3 separate regions of the Homo sapiens genome follow, and all the other regions are linked to region 1. The links are contacts of gene promoters, found by promoter capture Hi-C in human tissues and cell types (Jung and others, 2019). All regions are on one chromosome and are shown on one strand. The core of a region is centred on a gene start or on the middle of the fragment in contact, and the rest is flanking DNA. Distances in the headings are between cores, read along the strand shown.

Evidence for each region. The method cuts DNA at HindIII sites, captures the fragments that hold promoters and counts their contacts. A contact is called where the count stands out against the background at its distance.
Region 2: a fragment that was not itself captured here is called in contact with the fragment with the promoter of KCNS2 in region 1 in 2 of the 25 tissues and cell types used here (liver and lymphoblastoid cells).
Region 3: a contact is called between a fragment that was not itself captured here and the fragment with the promoter of KCNS2 in region 1, in 2 of the 25 tissues and cell types used here (H1 embryonic stem cells and adrenal gland).

The regions. Positions count from the first base shown.
Region 1 is chr8:98,424,973-98,429,709 of GRCh38, reverse strand. KCNS2 (potassium voltage-gated channel modifier subfamily S member 2) reads right to left here and starts at 2,752. Exons shown (of 2, transcript NM_020697.4): 1 at 2,381-2,752; 2 at 1-1,772. The coding sequence starts at 1,730. The coding sequence ends at 297. It also overlaps a transcript of STK3 not described here. RefSeq lists a silencer at 2,653-2,852. The HindIII fragment of the contact is 18,533 bases long and covers 175-4,737 here.
Region 2 is chr8:98,330,904-98,335,640 of GRCh38, reverse strand. No RefSeq gene overlaps it. Among named protein-coding and RNA genes, the nearest start is that of NIPAL2, 39 kb to the right of the region's middle. The HindIII fragment of the contact is 6,430 bases long and covers 1-4,737 here.
Region 3 is chr8:98,505,032-98,509,768 of GRCh38, reverse strand. All of the region lies in intron 10 of STK3 (serine/threonine kinase 3), which reads left to right. Among named protein-coding and RNA genes, the nearest start is that of KCNS2, 80 kb to the right of the region's middle. The HindIII fragment of the contact is 3,985 bases long and covers 863-4,737 here.

The DNA.
Region 1 (4,737 bases), core at 1,503-4,002:
AGAAAAATTAGCATTCTGGGTGTACTCATCTGGCAAAAAGGTGAACATTTTATGCCCACGATGCAAAGACCAGTGAGTGTCATTTCATGGAAAGGTGCAAAGGCATGGTGTCAGACACACCACCCTCTAAAAACGATTCTAAAAACTGTAAAAGAAACCTGGGTGCATATCCCATGCATCTCTCCCCTCAGGGGCTGGGCATACTCCTTACACCATAACCATAAGGTGCCTGGGCTGTGCCAGAGGCACAAGAGGCAGCTCAGCAATGTGGGGTGGAGGGTGACAAGTCCTCCCGGCTAACGTAGGGAATCATTTAAACTGAGTTCACTTGGTGAGCTCCTGCTCATGTTCGTCAGGCTTGCCATAAGGGATTTAACTTTATGGGCATAATAGTCCCTTAAATTGACCGAAGGGACCTCCTTCATTCCATCTCCAAAGTCACAGCTGCGCATGGCACTCTCAAGTTGCTTTTGGCGCCGGTAAAAGTGGGAGAACTTATTGAAGATCAAGGTGATGGGCAGGACCACCACGAGGATGCCTGCCAAGATGCAGGCAGAGGCAGTCAGCTTTCCTGCCGTGGTCCCTGGGACCACATCCCCGTACCCCACTGTGGTCATACTGACGGTAGCCCACCACCAGCAGGCAGGGATGGTGGCCAGGCCCTCGTTCTCCTCCTTTTCAATGGTGTAGGCCACCACGGAGAAGATGGAAATCCCCACGGAGAGGTAGAGCAAGAGCAGCCCTACTTCTTTGTAGCTGTATTTCAAAGTGGCCCCCAGGGAGCGGAGGCCAGTGGAGTGCCTGGCCAGCTTTAAGATGCGGAAGATCCGCATCAGCCTCAGGACCTGGGCCACCCTGCCCAAGTTGGCTAAAGTAGGTGTGCTCTCCACCACCAGGTTCACCACCAGAGTGATGTAAAAGGGGACGATGGACATGAGGTCAATAAGGTTTAGGGCATTCTTGAAGAACTTGAGGAAGTCAGGGGCCACAGCAAACCTGGCCACCAGCTCAAATGTGAACCAGGCAATGCCAAAGTGCTCCACGATTTCGAACCTAGGGTCCTCGCCAGGGTTGCCCTGGCTGTCAGGGATTTGGAAATCGGGCAGGCTATTGAGGCACATGGTGATGATGGACCCCATCACCACCAGGATGGACAGGATGCTGAAGACCCTGCTCAGCACTGAGTAGCCGGGGTTGTCCAGCGCCAGCCACAGCTGCCTGCGGAAGTTGCCGAGGGGCTGCCCATCGAACTTGGAGGCGTCGTTGTAGAAGGCAAGGATCTCATCGAAGGAAGACGTGGTGCTCTCCTGGTCACTCTGCTCGTCCCACTTCTCCTGCTCGGGCTCTACTTTGCGGCCATGGTAGCTGTAGCTGCAGCAGGAGTCAATGAAGAACTCGTTGATGCCCCAGTACTCGATCTCCTGGCTGAAGGAGAAGACACATAGCTCAGCCATGACGTGAAGCTTGCCGGTGTGATAGAAATGCAGCACGTAGGGGAAGAGCTCAGGGTTGCGGTCGAAGTAGAACTCCCGCTGGACGTCGTCGTAGTCATCGCAGAGCTCCAGAATGGCCTCGCGCGAGTGGCAGAGCAGCAAGCGGCCCAGGCGCGTCTCGGGGAAGCGCAGCAGCGTGTGCGAGCGCAGCCTCCTCTTGAAGCCGCCCACATTGATGCGGATCTCCCCGTCCTCGACGTTAGCCTCCGACACGTCCCACAGGCTCTGGCCGGTCATGCTGGAGGCGCCGGCCGCCCGCGCCGCGCGGGGGCGCTACACCTGGAAGCGGAGGGAACAGCGTCGGCGAGAGCGCCGTGCGCCCTGGCGGGGCCCCCTCTCCCTACCCATTACTGGCGGGCCCAGGCCTCCTGGTGGGTCTTGGGTGCTGAAGGGCTGGGCTGGGGCAAGAGTTTGAGGGGTCTGATCCCCTCCCAGGAAAGGCTGGGGGTGGGTATGTTTCTATTAGCACAGCTCCACCCCAGGGGTCTCGGTGGGCGCTTTGCGCGTGCGGGGTCGCGTCCCCGCGGCTCTGAGCGCCCAGGGGGCTGCATGCTGACCTTGTCCATGGGCAGGCCCGGGAGACGCCCCCGCCCGCTCGCCGCAGACAGGCGGGACCGGAGCTGAGATACGCACGGGCAGGGCCGGGCCGACACGGGGGGCGCGTAGCTTTGGTGGGGTGGGGGGGATGCGCTGGAGTCTGGAAACCCGGGCCGCGGGAATGAGGGGGGCGGCCCGGCCTCCCCTGGGTCCAGATCCCACGCCTGCAGCCCCCGCGTCCCCGGCCCAGGTCTCCCTGCCGGCCTGGCGCTATGCCCCGGGGCCGCGTGCGCTGCGCCTCACCCAGCGGGGCTGCCCGGGCTCGCCCTGCGCGTTCTGGAAGCGCTTACCTGGGAGCACGGGTGCCCGCGGCCGAGGCCGGCGGGAAACTTCCCCAACCCGCGGGCGAGCATCGCGGCGGTGGCCGCTGCCTGCTGGCGGTGCGTGCGCGGGTGCGAGTGTGTGCGCCCGGCGGGCCGGCGGGCGGGGGCCGCCGAGCGTCTCCTCCCGTCTCGGGCCGGGTACGCCGCCGCCGCCCGCAGCTGCCGAAGGCTCACAGGTGGCTGCGTGGTCCCGCCGCTCCCGGAGCCCCCTCTCCGGATCCGCGCGCCCCTCACCCACCCAGAGAGGCAGGAACCCGCGCCGCATTCGCCCCGTGAGCCGGGGCGGGAGCAGAGCGGGTGTGACGGGGCGCCCGCCCTGCGCGGGGCGCGGCGCGGTGGTGCTGAACGGACAGCTCCGCGTGCCTCGGCCGCCGCCCGGGCTCGGAAGGCGCAGCCGCCGCCGCCGCTGCTTCTCTGCGCTTCCCCGGCGCGTCACCGCGACCACCTTGCGCCCCCGGCTCGGCGCGGGGCCGACACCTCTCCCTTCCCCCCGACCATCCCCCGGTGACAGCTGTTATTATCACCACCCCCAGGGCGCAGGCAGGGGGCTGCCTACGGTGACCTTTCCCCGCTGGGTCTGGCGGGAGCTGGGCTGGGAAATAAAGGGCGGCTTGCGCGTGTCCGGGGACAGGGCGGGACCGGAGGAACTCCAGGTGTCCCCTTTTAGGGACCTGAAGAAAAGTTTCCCGAAGCCCGGGGGTGGGGTTGTTGGGGAACAGGAGCTGGAGGGGAAAAGAGGGGGCCGGGAAGTCCAAGGTGGAGATCGGCTTAGTACGCGGGGGGCGGGAGCGCAGGCCGCACGGCGGGGGCGGGAGTCGCTGAGTTCTGGTCGGGAGCTCTGTGTGGGCACAGTTTGTGTCCAGGCCGGTGTGGTGTGCTGGCTGTGCGGGACTGCAGGGCGCTGTGTGTGTATGTAGGCTGAGGACAGCAGGACTTTTCAGTGTCTGTGTGTACCGCGTTCATTAAAATGGGTCCTCTGTCGGATGGGAAGATGCGTCGGCACAGGGGGGACCTGGGACGTGTGTCAGCGCAGTGTGTGGCATGGGGAACCGTGTGCTGTGTGTACATGTGCTGTGTACAGTGTAGTACTCTTGGGACTGTGACGGGCTCATGTGTGTGGAATATGTTGAGAGCGGTGTGCTTGCCGACAGTGGGGACTGGGGGGTTCAAGCTGGAGTGGGGACTGGTAGATGTGCTCAGGATCTGTGTCCCTATTCCTAAGAAGACTCGTGGCCCAGATCTGAGCTCTTGGTCTGCTGGGATTGTCCTTAAGGCCCTGCCTACTGGGCTGAGCTGAGAAATGGACCCAGTCCCTGGGGAGCCCCCTCCCTTTGGTGTTTCTCTGTGGTGTCCACTTGCAAAGACTGGAGCACCGTGGTTGTGTGAGCTTAGCAGGGAGCTAGCGTCTACATGTCTCGGTCAGAAGTCCTGGGAATGCCCTTGCAGGGTGGCTCTGGATTCATGGTGCAACCACCACTGCCACAGTGGGAAGTACATTCTTTCTTTACGCAATCCTGGCAATGCCGTCCCAGCTGAAAAGGTGCTCTGTGTAGCTCTGGAGGGCTTGGGGCCTCCTTGGAGGACCTGTAGAGGACCGTTAATCTGGCTTCGAATGGGGGCTCCTGCATCCAAGTCTGACCCATCCCTGTGACCCACTGGCTTCTGGACATGTGTGTGGGTGTGAATGCAGGTGTGTTTCCTGCTGAGAGGGCTTCACACCCATGCCCCTGCAGGCCTCTGCAAATGTGGTGGATTCCACAGAGGCAGCCACATGGGAGAGGGATAGTAGGGTAGTGAGGGCCACACACACTTCCTCTTTCTTGTGTATGACCTTTCCCCAGGCTTTGGGAAACTTTTCTTCAGGTCCCTAAAAGAGGAATCCAGTCCTCCATTCTGCCCTACCCTCAAACACACACAAGCCACCCTTTATTTCCCAGTGTGTTTGTGTGTGTGTGTGTGTGTGTGTGTCTGAGAGGGAGAGACGGAGAAAAATCTGATCTTGGTTATCCTTGTCTTCATCTCCCTTTCTTTCAGGGTCTGTGTGTGGACAGCAGCCTCTATCTAGGTCTGCTGGGTCCATCATTGGAGGTCTGTGGCTCCCACACACCTGGCTGCAGTCTGGGAGCCCCTGGATCTCCTTCATCCCCATGGGGGTGCTGTGGAGAGAGTGCCACCCTTGCTGAGGGGGTGTGTGCTTCAGTGCATTTATAATCCCTGTGTCAGTGCCTCTTTCACCCTTTTCCAATCCCCCCTTCCACACCTTCGGCGGGGTGATGGTGGCTGCAAGGTGTCTCTGCTGCAGGGGCCTGAGCAGCAGCACCTAC
Region 2 (4,737 bases), core at 1,349-3,848, 94 kb after region 1:
AATGCTACATCTTTCCTAATTTTTTCTCTTTGCATCCTTCAGTTTCTTCCATTTGTGATGATGTAATCCTAATGAAAAGCCTCAGCTGATGTGAATGGACAGGTGATGTGAAACACAGTATTCAATTCCACAAATGTTTATTGACAGCCTACTAGGGCCAGGCCCTGCACCAAAGACTAAGCTTGAAGTGGGTAAACATAGAATCCTTGCCACTATTTTGTAGAGCCATATTTGTAATCCTGCTAAATATACTATCTATCTATCTATCTATCTATCTATCTATCTATCTATCTATCTAATAGCACATTTTCCAGACGAGAAGGGCACTGTTAATTCCACAGAGGGGACGGGACAAGGACAGCTTTAGAGGCAGAATGAGGTTGGAGCCAACTTTTGAAGCAAAGCAGAAATTTCTTCAGGAAGTGAAGACAGAGCAGGCATTCCAGATACTCATTCATTTGTTCATTTGGTCACTTTCTTTACTGGACATTTATTGAGTTTGCTATGGTGTGGCAGGTATTGGGGCAACAATAGTGAATAACAGTCCTGCCATTTAGGGAATGCAGAGTCCAGTGTTAGAAGCTGGCAAGAGCCAGGCCATGACCACACAGTGGGAGAAGAGCAACAATGAGTAGCTGGCATGATGTGTGTGGCCCTCTTTATGGCCCCGCATGCTTCCAGCCTGGAAAACATTTGTAGGGGTGAGTCAAGGATGGTGTCCTAAGGGAGATGACATCCCAGCTGAGAACTAAAGGTTGAGTAGGCATTGTCCATGTGAGACTAAAGCAGAATATTCTAGGCAAAAGGGCCTTTTCATGCAAAGGCTGAAGAATGAAGAGGCCCATTTAGGAGGATAGTGAGAGATGAGGCTGGAGAGGTAAGCTGGGACGAGGTCATGAGGGCCGTTTGAAGGAATCTGGACTTTATTCTTATGGCAAGGGGAAATTATTAGAAGCCTTAAGCATGGACATGCCATGTTCAGGCTTGCATTTTAGAAAGATCATTCTGGCTACTGAGTAGAGGATGGTTTGCAGGGGAGAAGGAAGACCAGTTCAAAGGTGGCGGCAGTAATTCAGGTGAGAAATGATGAGGGCCTAGGAATGGGTGGTAACAGTAGGCAGGGATGGAGAGAAATGACCCAAGTAGCACCTGCACATGCCCATAAGCACCAAAGAATGCAGTGGAGCTGAGAGATCCCACGTAAGGTGGTCATAGCCCAGAGTAGAGAGCAGAAATGGATGGGAACCGAGGCTGGAGCCAAATGTTGGGACCTCTAATGCTACACTAAGAAGTTTGGAATTCACTCCAGAGGCAACAGTAAGCCATTGAAGGCTTGAAGGAAAAGAAGATTATAATTCTGATATCCCAAAAGGGTAGATTCGCAACAGAAGAAACAGTTGCCATTTTGGTTAATGTAACAGTCTAGGTGCAAAACTTGAGCCAAGTTGTTGACTCTCTCAGCCTATCAGATGATATCTCTACCTCAACTGTAATGTGGACATAGTAGTCTTTAAAATGGGTAAAATGGGTAAAAATCTATTTTATAAGACTAAAGAGGATTATGAAGGTTCATGAGTTAATATGTAAAATGATTAGGATCATGTCTGATACATAGTCTATTAATCAGAGTTCTCTGGAGAAACAGAACCAACAGGCTATGTCTATATATGGTTTTGGCTCTATGGAGGCTGAAAACTCTCAAGAGGGACCATCTGCACACTGGAGACCTGGGAAAGTTGGTGGTGTCATTCGAAGGCCTGAAAGCTGGAGGGCAGGTGGTGTAGTTTCCAGTCCAGACCTGAAGGCCTGAGAACCAAGAGCGCTATGTCCCAGCTCAAGCAGCCCGGCCAAGAGCATATTTGATCTTCCTCCTTTTTGTTCTATTCAGTCCCTCAACAGATGAGATGTGACCCACCCACATTAAGGAGGGCCATCTGCTTTACCAATTCAAATGTTCATCTTTCCGCAAATACTCCCTAGATAGATACACCCTGGAATGATGTTTAACTGTGCCCCAGTCTGAGCATCCTGTGGCCCAGTCAAGTTGATGCATTAAATTAACCTTCACACATAGTAAACATTTGGTGTTAGCTTTATTTGTTTACTAATTGTCATGAGAATTAAATTACATGGTGTATATAAAATTCTCAGAAGTGATGGTCCATACACATTAATCAATAAATAATAAGTATTGCTATTAGTTTTTTTATTTTGTTATTAGTGCTGAGGTTATGAAGTTGGGCTATGACCCTGGAGAGCCAAGAGGAGTGAATCACGTCAGCAATGTCATGCTGAATATAAATCTTGATTTAAAAACACTCCCCAAAAATAAAAGAGAGAGAAGGGCTCTCTTTTCATTATATCAGGGCAGTTGGATGTAAGAAAGCTGGCGAATTTATTCTGAAATATTATGATAAGATTAAGAAAAATGGGCATATGGTGAGAATTATTTGTTAGGTTTCAAACATCTCAAATTCCTATATTTGAGTATCCTAAAAAAAATTGTATGCACAGACTGTATTGTCAGTACAAATATTTGCAAAAGTGAGTTACTTCATTCCAGACTAGATTCTTTTTGTTATATGAAAGTTTCAGAGCTTGCCCTTTCTAGGTCAGTGAGACATAAAATTGGCTGATTTTTTTTTTCCTTTACCTACACACAGAAGGGTGTTTACCCTAAAAATCAAACAAAGCAGAAAATGTGCAGTATTTGAAATCTTTGGCTCCACACAGGGAGAGCCTCTGACAGCAGCTCTGCAGCTGGCCTTAGGAATTGCCACCATGCTGTGGAAGTCTGCACCTTCCAGAGTGATGCAAGGACTGTGACCCAGGTTTTGGCATATTCCTCACCAAAGACCGTGTTAGAGAGACGAGCCAGGGTAAGCTCTCATCTCCTGCACAAAATATGCAAACACACAAGAATGAGACCTTCTCTTGCATTGTGTCAGAACAGCAGGAATTTTTACAAGACAATTTTGAAGGCTATAGCTGGGCACAGTGTTGAAAACCCCCCACAGGACCGATTGCAGAGTGAACACCCTGATCAAGATGGTGTCTTAAACTCCATGAACTTCCCCTGTGGGTAACAAAGCAATAAGTAATACTTGTGCAACCCTGTGAAATTATTTTCCTTTCTACGCTCCCTGGTTACTCATGTTCTCTGTACACTCGAGAACAAAATGGTGACCATTAGGCTGTGTTTACTCAGCAAGTGCTGGTGTCCTTAGGAGCCTTTTTAGCCCAATAGTCTGTGATTTTGAGAGCTGGCTCCAAACTGGCCCCAGGAAGGATCTTATTACTTTTCCAAAACACTGGAAATCATCATTTGGACACAAAAGTTAGAAGCTGCCTCAATCATCCAGTTAAAAGCAAACAGCTATGTGGTTAGGAAAGAGGTTGATTTCCCATTGCTTCCTCTGTATTGTGGTCTGTACAAGAACTTGGTACCACCTAAATCTATTGAGATCCACGCTGAATAAATAGGATGAGTTTTTAAATATGTCAATGTTTTGACCCTAGACTTGTCAATGCAATATCAACCTCACATAACTTGATACTAAGATTATCTGGGGCCAGGTGCGGTGGCTCACGCCTGTAATCCCAGCACTTTGGAAGGCCAAGGCAGGAGGATCCCTTGAGCCCAGTAGTTCAAGACCAGCCTGGGCAACACAGTGAGACCCTGTCTCAATAATAAATAGATAGACAGATGATAGATAGATAGATAGGTAGATAGATAGATAATCTGGGTATATGCACTCTTGTTCCCTCCGCCCCCCGCTTTCTCTTTCTCTTCTGTTTTGGAAATGATGGTTTTGAATTTAAATGAGATAGAGGAAAGATGAGTGAGAACAAGACATTTGGAGTACCCACAACCAACGTGAAGTTTCTGAGTTCATATTCCCTCTTCATGCCCCATTCAGATTGATTCATGAGCACACAGAAGCCTGCTGACCATATCCACAGTGCATCTAAAACCACATTTGAATGGCATTTCTTGCTGTGGTTTTGTTTGTCTGTTTGAGACAGGGTCTTGCTCTGTCATTTAAGTTGGAGTGCAGTGGCACAATCACAGCTCACTGCAACCTCGAACTCCTGGACTCAAGAAATCCTCCTGCCCTAGCCTCCCAAAGAAGTAGCTAGGACTACAAGTGCATGCGTCACCATGCCCAGCTAATTTTTGCATTTTTTGTAGAGACAGGTCTCACCATGTTGCCCAGGCTGATCTTGAACTCCTGGCCTCAAGTAATCCACCTGCCTAAGCCTCCCAAAGCACTGGGATTACAGGGTGAGCCATTGCATCTGGCCTGTTCCAATTTCTTTACATTTTGTTTCCTCAGTGATTTATGGACTGAGCCTCTCAGGGTGGCTTACAGGATTCAAGAGAAAGCAAATCTATGATTTAGTTAAGATATTGATTCTGTAGAGTAAATCAGACTGGCAATAAAAGAGAGAAAAAAATGTAGGATGTTGTTGGTTGGTGAGGAGGAGTTGTGCTGTTGGACTTTATTGTGAGGATTCCATTCAAACGTACTCCAGTGCACTGGCAGTGAGTTTTGTGTCAATTCTATTATCCCTCATCATGTAATTGTGGATAAGTAATTTAAATGGAAACATCTTGGGCTGGACAGAGAATGGTTTTTGGAGTCAGACAGATCTGAGTTTAAATCCTGGCTCTCCTACTTAAATAGAGAGTGATCTTGGGCAGGTTAATTACCCTCTCTGAGCCAGTTTCCTCAT
Region 3 (4,737 bases), core at 1,606-4,105, 80 kb before region 1:
GGTAAAATAAGGTTTATTTACAGTCTTGTTAAAAAGCTGTTGGCCATAGTACTTCTCTTTCTGTATATGTCTTATTCCTCAGTGTATACTTTAATTTATGATTAGTTTAAAGTTTAAAAGTTTTAATCTGTGATGAACTCTAGGCTTAAGTTTATGGTATAGTTTATTTTATACACTGTTCTTAAAAAGCTATTCGATTACTAGGTAGGATTCTTTCAAGTAAAAATTTAAATGTCAAAGTAATTCTCCTTAATAAAATAATTCCATTAGGATGTTTTCATTAAACTTACCAGTCTCTTAATAATCTGCACAATAGTCATCTAAGTAAAACTTGTATTTTTGTTTGTAGTTTATATAAAACAGCCTAAGTATTTTAATGCTGTGAATCTAGATTTTTAAATGAGTACACTGTACATTTTACATAGACACATCTATTTATAATTATGAGCATAAATTATAAGTGTAATTTCTGAGATGCTTAAAGATATAATAAAATTTATATTGTTATACCAATCTTAAGAGTGCCTAGGAAAACTTTAAAGAACCACCCAAGAAACTGCCATTTAATTCTGTCTAAATATATTTTGTCCAAGTTAAGAAAAGGAAAGATATTTTGTTCGTATAATTATTTTGCCTTCTGCAAGCTCCCTTTCATCATATGCTGAATCTCTAGCAGGTTAGATCATTAAACTTTTCAGATGAAAAAAAAAGATGGTTGGGGAAAGACTAGTTAGTACCTGATTGGGCAAATGTGGGTCGAGTTTTGAAAACCTTTTTATTTTTTTAGATGAGTTTCCCTGAGTTTTTGTTTACTCAATTTATAAGGTATGTAAGAATACATCATTAGTTCTTACCTTGACCTTTCCTAAATCTTTTGTGTCATTAAATAGAACAAGGCTATGCAGTTAAAATATTTATTTGAAAGTTTTTAGAATCCTAATAATTTTGCTTACTTTAATTAATTACTGTCAAATTGTGATAGTAATTGTTAGTCCTAAATTGTTAAGAACTTTATTTTAAATTTGTTTTCCCATAATTTTCCCCAAAATTGTTTTATTTCTTAAGCAATCCAAAACATAACCAGCCACAGCCACATAAAAATTTTTAATAAAAACTTTATTGAGATATAATTCACACACCATATAACTCACCCATTTAAAGTATGTAATTCAATGGTTGTTTAGTACATATACAGTTTTGTAGCTGGCACTATAATCCATTTCAGAATATTTTCATCATTATCCCAAAAAGAAACCCTGTACCCACTAGTAGTCACTTCCCATTTCCTCCCAACACCCTTTTCTTTTTCTAGTCCTAGGCAGCCACTGGTCTACTTCTTGTCTCTGTGGATTTGCCTGTCTTGACATTTTGTGTAAGTAGAATCATACAATATGAGCCACAACTATTCCTTCTACCTTTCTAGTAGATAGGTGATTATTACAGCAGGGTGACTGTAATATTGCTGTAACTTAGGAATTTGCCACCTATGATAATAGTTAACATAAAGTGTTTCCTGAAGCAGTATAGATAAAAACTTGAAGTCTGAAATAAAATATTTGTAATGGATTCATCAGGACCTTAAATACTAGGGTAGTGCAGTCTACTTCCTATATACTAGAAATCAGTTATATGTAATACATGCCTGGCACTGTTCTAGATATTCATGATATAGCAACAAATAAACCAGACAAAAATCTCTACCTTCACAAAGCATATACTGTAATGGAGAAAACAGTCAATAACCATAATAAATTAGTAAAGTATACAGTTTGCTAAAAGACGATAAGTACTTTGGAGAGAAAAAAGAACCACGTAAGGTAATGAGGCCGGTGTTGGGGTAAAGGGCTTGCAATATTGAGTAGAATGGTTGGAGAAGGCTTCATTGAGAAAGTGACAATTGAATAAAGACTTGAAGGAGGTAAAGGACCAAGCAGGGAGTGAGCCATCCGGATATCTGAAGGAAGAACATTCCAAGTAGAGGGACCAGCAAAGACTCTGAAGTGGAAGCTTCCTTTGGTGTGTTGGGGGAACACTAAAGTGATACATTGATTTTGGGCAGCTGAATGAGTGAGGGCCAGAACATAAGAAGATGAAGTTGGAGAGCAGGATAGGGAAGTGGTAGGGTGCACCAGATGGTAGGCTTCTGAAGGTATTGTAAAGATTTGGGCATTTGTTCTAAAAGAAATATGTAGCCATAGAGAAATAACTTGATCTCTAACTGACTGACTTTAAAAAGTTTACTCTGACCACATTTCAGAATTGATTGAGTGGGGCAAGGGTAGAAGCAGTCATCCGGGCAAAGAGCACCAGAGACAGTAAGAACTGGTCAGGTTCCTGATAACTTTTTAATATATAGGCAACAAAATTGTATAACTGACTGAATATGAGAATGAAAGATCCGGGATAATTCCAAGGTTTTTTGTTTGAACAGCCAGGATGGTGTTGCCTATAACTGAACTGGGGAAGACTGTGGGTGGAACTTGTTGGCTGGGAAGTTCTTCTGCATCCAGGTGGGCATACCAAATATACGATTGTGTGTCCAAATTGGGAGTTCAAGGGAGAGTTCTAGGCTGGAATTTGTGGTAATCAGTATATAGATGGTATTTAAAACCATGAGACTGAATGGGATCTTCAAAGGACTCTCCAAAGAAATGAGTATATATAGAGAAGAAAAGGGGTCTGTATTCATTTCCCATGGCTGCTGTAACAAAGAAATGAGTATATGTAGAGAAGGGAAGGGGTCTGTATTCATTTCCCATGGCTGCTGTAACAAATTACCACAAATTGAGTGGCTTAAAACAGTAGAAATGTGTTGTTTTACAGTTCTGGAGCCAGGAATCCAAACTAAATCTTAACGGGGCTAAACCTGAGTTGTAGCAGGGCCACACCTTCTCTGGGGAAATTTGAACTAAGTGTTATGAGGCTAAATCATGCTATCAGCAGGGCTACAATCCCTCCAAATACTCTAGCAGAGAATCTCTTTTACTTTTCAGTATCTGGAGCTGCATTCGTTGAGTCTTTGGTTCTTTCTCCATTTTCTTTCTTTTTTTTTTCTTTTGATGGAGTCTTGCTCTGTCGCCTAGGCTGGAGTGCAGTGTGGTGCAATCTCAGCTCACTGCAACCTCTGCCTCCTGGGTTCAAGCAGTTCTCTTGCCTCAGCCTCCCAAGTAGCTGGGATTATGGGCATCTGCCACTTCACCTGGCTAATTTTATTATTAGTAGAGACATGGATTCCATTCCAAGATGGCCAAATAGGAACAGCTCCGGTCTGCAGCTCCCAGTGTGATTGACGCAGAAGACGGTGATTTCTGCATTTCCAATTGAGGTACCTGGTTCATCTCACTGGGACTGGTTGGACAGTGGGTGCAGCCCACGGAGGGCAAGCTGAAGCAGGGCAGGGCATCACCTCACCCAGGAAGCACAAGGGGTCAGGGGATTTCCCTTTCCTAGCCAAGGGAAGCCGTGACAGACTGTACCTGGAAAAACGGGATGCCTCCACCTAAATACTGTGATTTTCCAGTGGTCTTAGCAGAAGGCACACCAGGAGATTATATCCCATGCCTGGCTTGGCGGGTCTCATGCCCACGGAGCCTTGCTCACTGCTAGTGCAGCAGTCTGAGATCAACCTGCAAGGCAGCAACCTGGCAGGGGGAGGGGCATCCGCCATTGCTGAGGCTTGAGTAGGTAAACAAAGCAGCCTGGGAAGCTCAAACTGGGTGGAGCCCACTGCAGCTCTGCAAGGCCTGCTGACTCTATAGACCCCACCTCTGGGGGCAGGGCATAGCTGAACAAAAGGCAGCAGAAACTTCTGCAGACTTAAACGTCCTTGTCTGACAGCTCTGAAGAGAGTAGTGGTTCTCCCAGCATGGTGTTCGAGCTCTGAGAACAGACAGACTGCCTCCTCAAGTGGGTCCCTGACCCCTGTGTAGCCTAACTGGGAGACACCTCCCAGTAGGGGCCAACTGACACCTCACACAGCCAGATGCCCCTCTGGGATGAAGCTTCTAGAGGAAGGATCAGGCAGCAATATTTGCTGTTCTGCAGCCTCCACTGGTGATACCCAGGCAAACAGAGTCTGGAGTGGTCCTCCAGCAGACTCCAACAGACCTGCAGCTGAGGGACCTGATTCTTAGAAGGAAAACTAACAAACAGAAAGGAATAGCATCAACATCAACATAAAGGTCATCTACACCAAAACCCCATCGGTAGGTCACCAGCATCAAAGACAAAAGGTAGATAAAAACCACAAAGATAAGGAGAAACCAGAGCAGAAAGCTGAAAATCCTAAAAACAAGAGCACCTCTTCTCCCCAAAAGGATGGCAGCTCCTCACCAGCAATGGAACAAAACTGGACAGAGAATGACTTTGATGAGCTGACAGAAGTAGGCTTCAGAAGGTTGGTAATAACAAACTTCTCTGAGCTAAAGGAGGATGTTCGAACCCATTGCAAGGAAGCTAAAAGCGTTGAAAAAAGATTAGACTAATGGCTAACTAGAATAAACATGTAGAGAAGACCTTAAATGACCTGATGGAACTGAAAACCATGGCAGGAGAACTACGTGACACATGCACAAGCTTCAATAGCCTATTCGATCAAGTGGAAGAAAGGGTATCAGTGACTGAAGATCAAATTAATGAAATAAAGTGAGAGGACAAGGTTAGAGAAAAAAGAGTAAAAATAAATGAACAAAACCTCCAAGAAACATGGGACTATGTGAAAAGACCAAATCTACATTT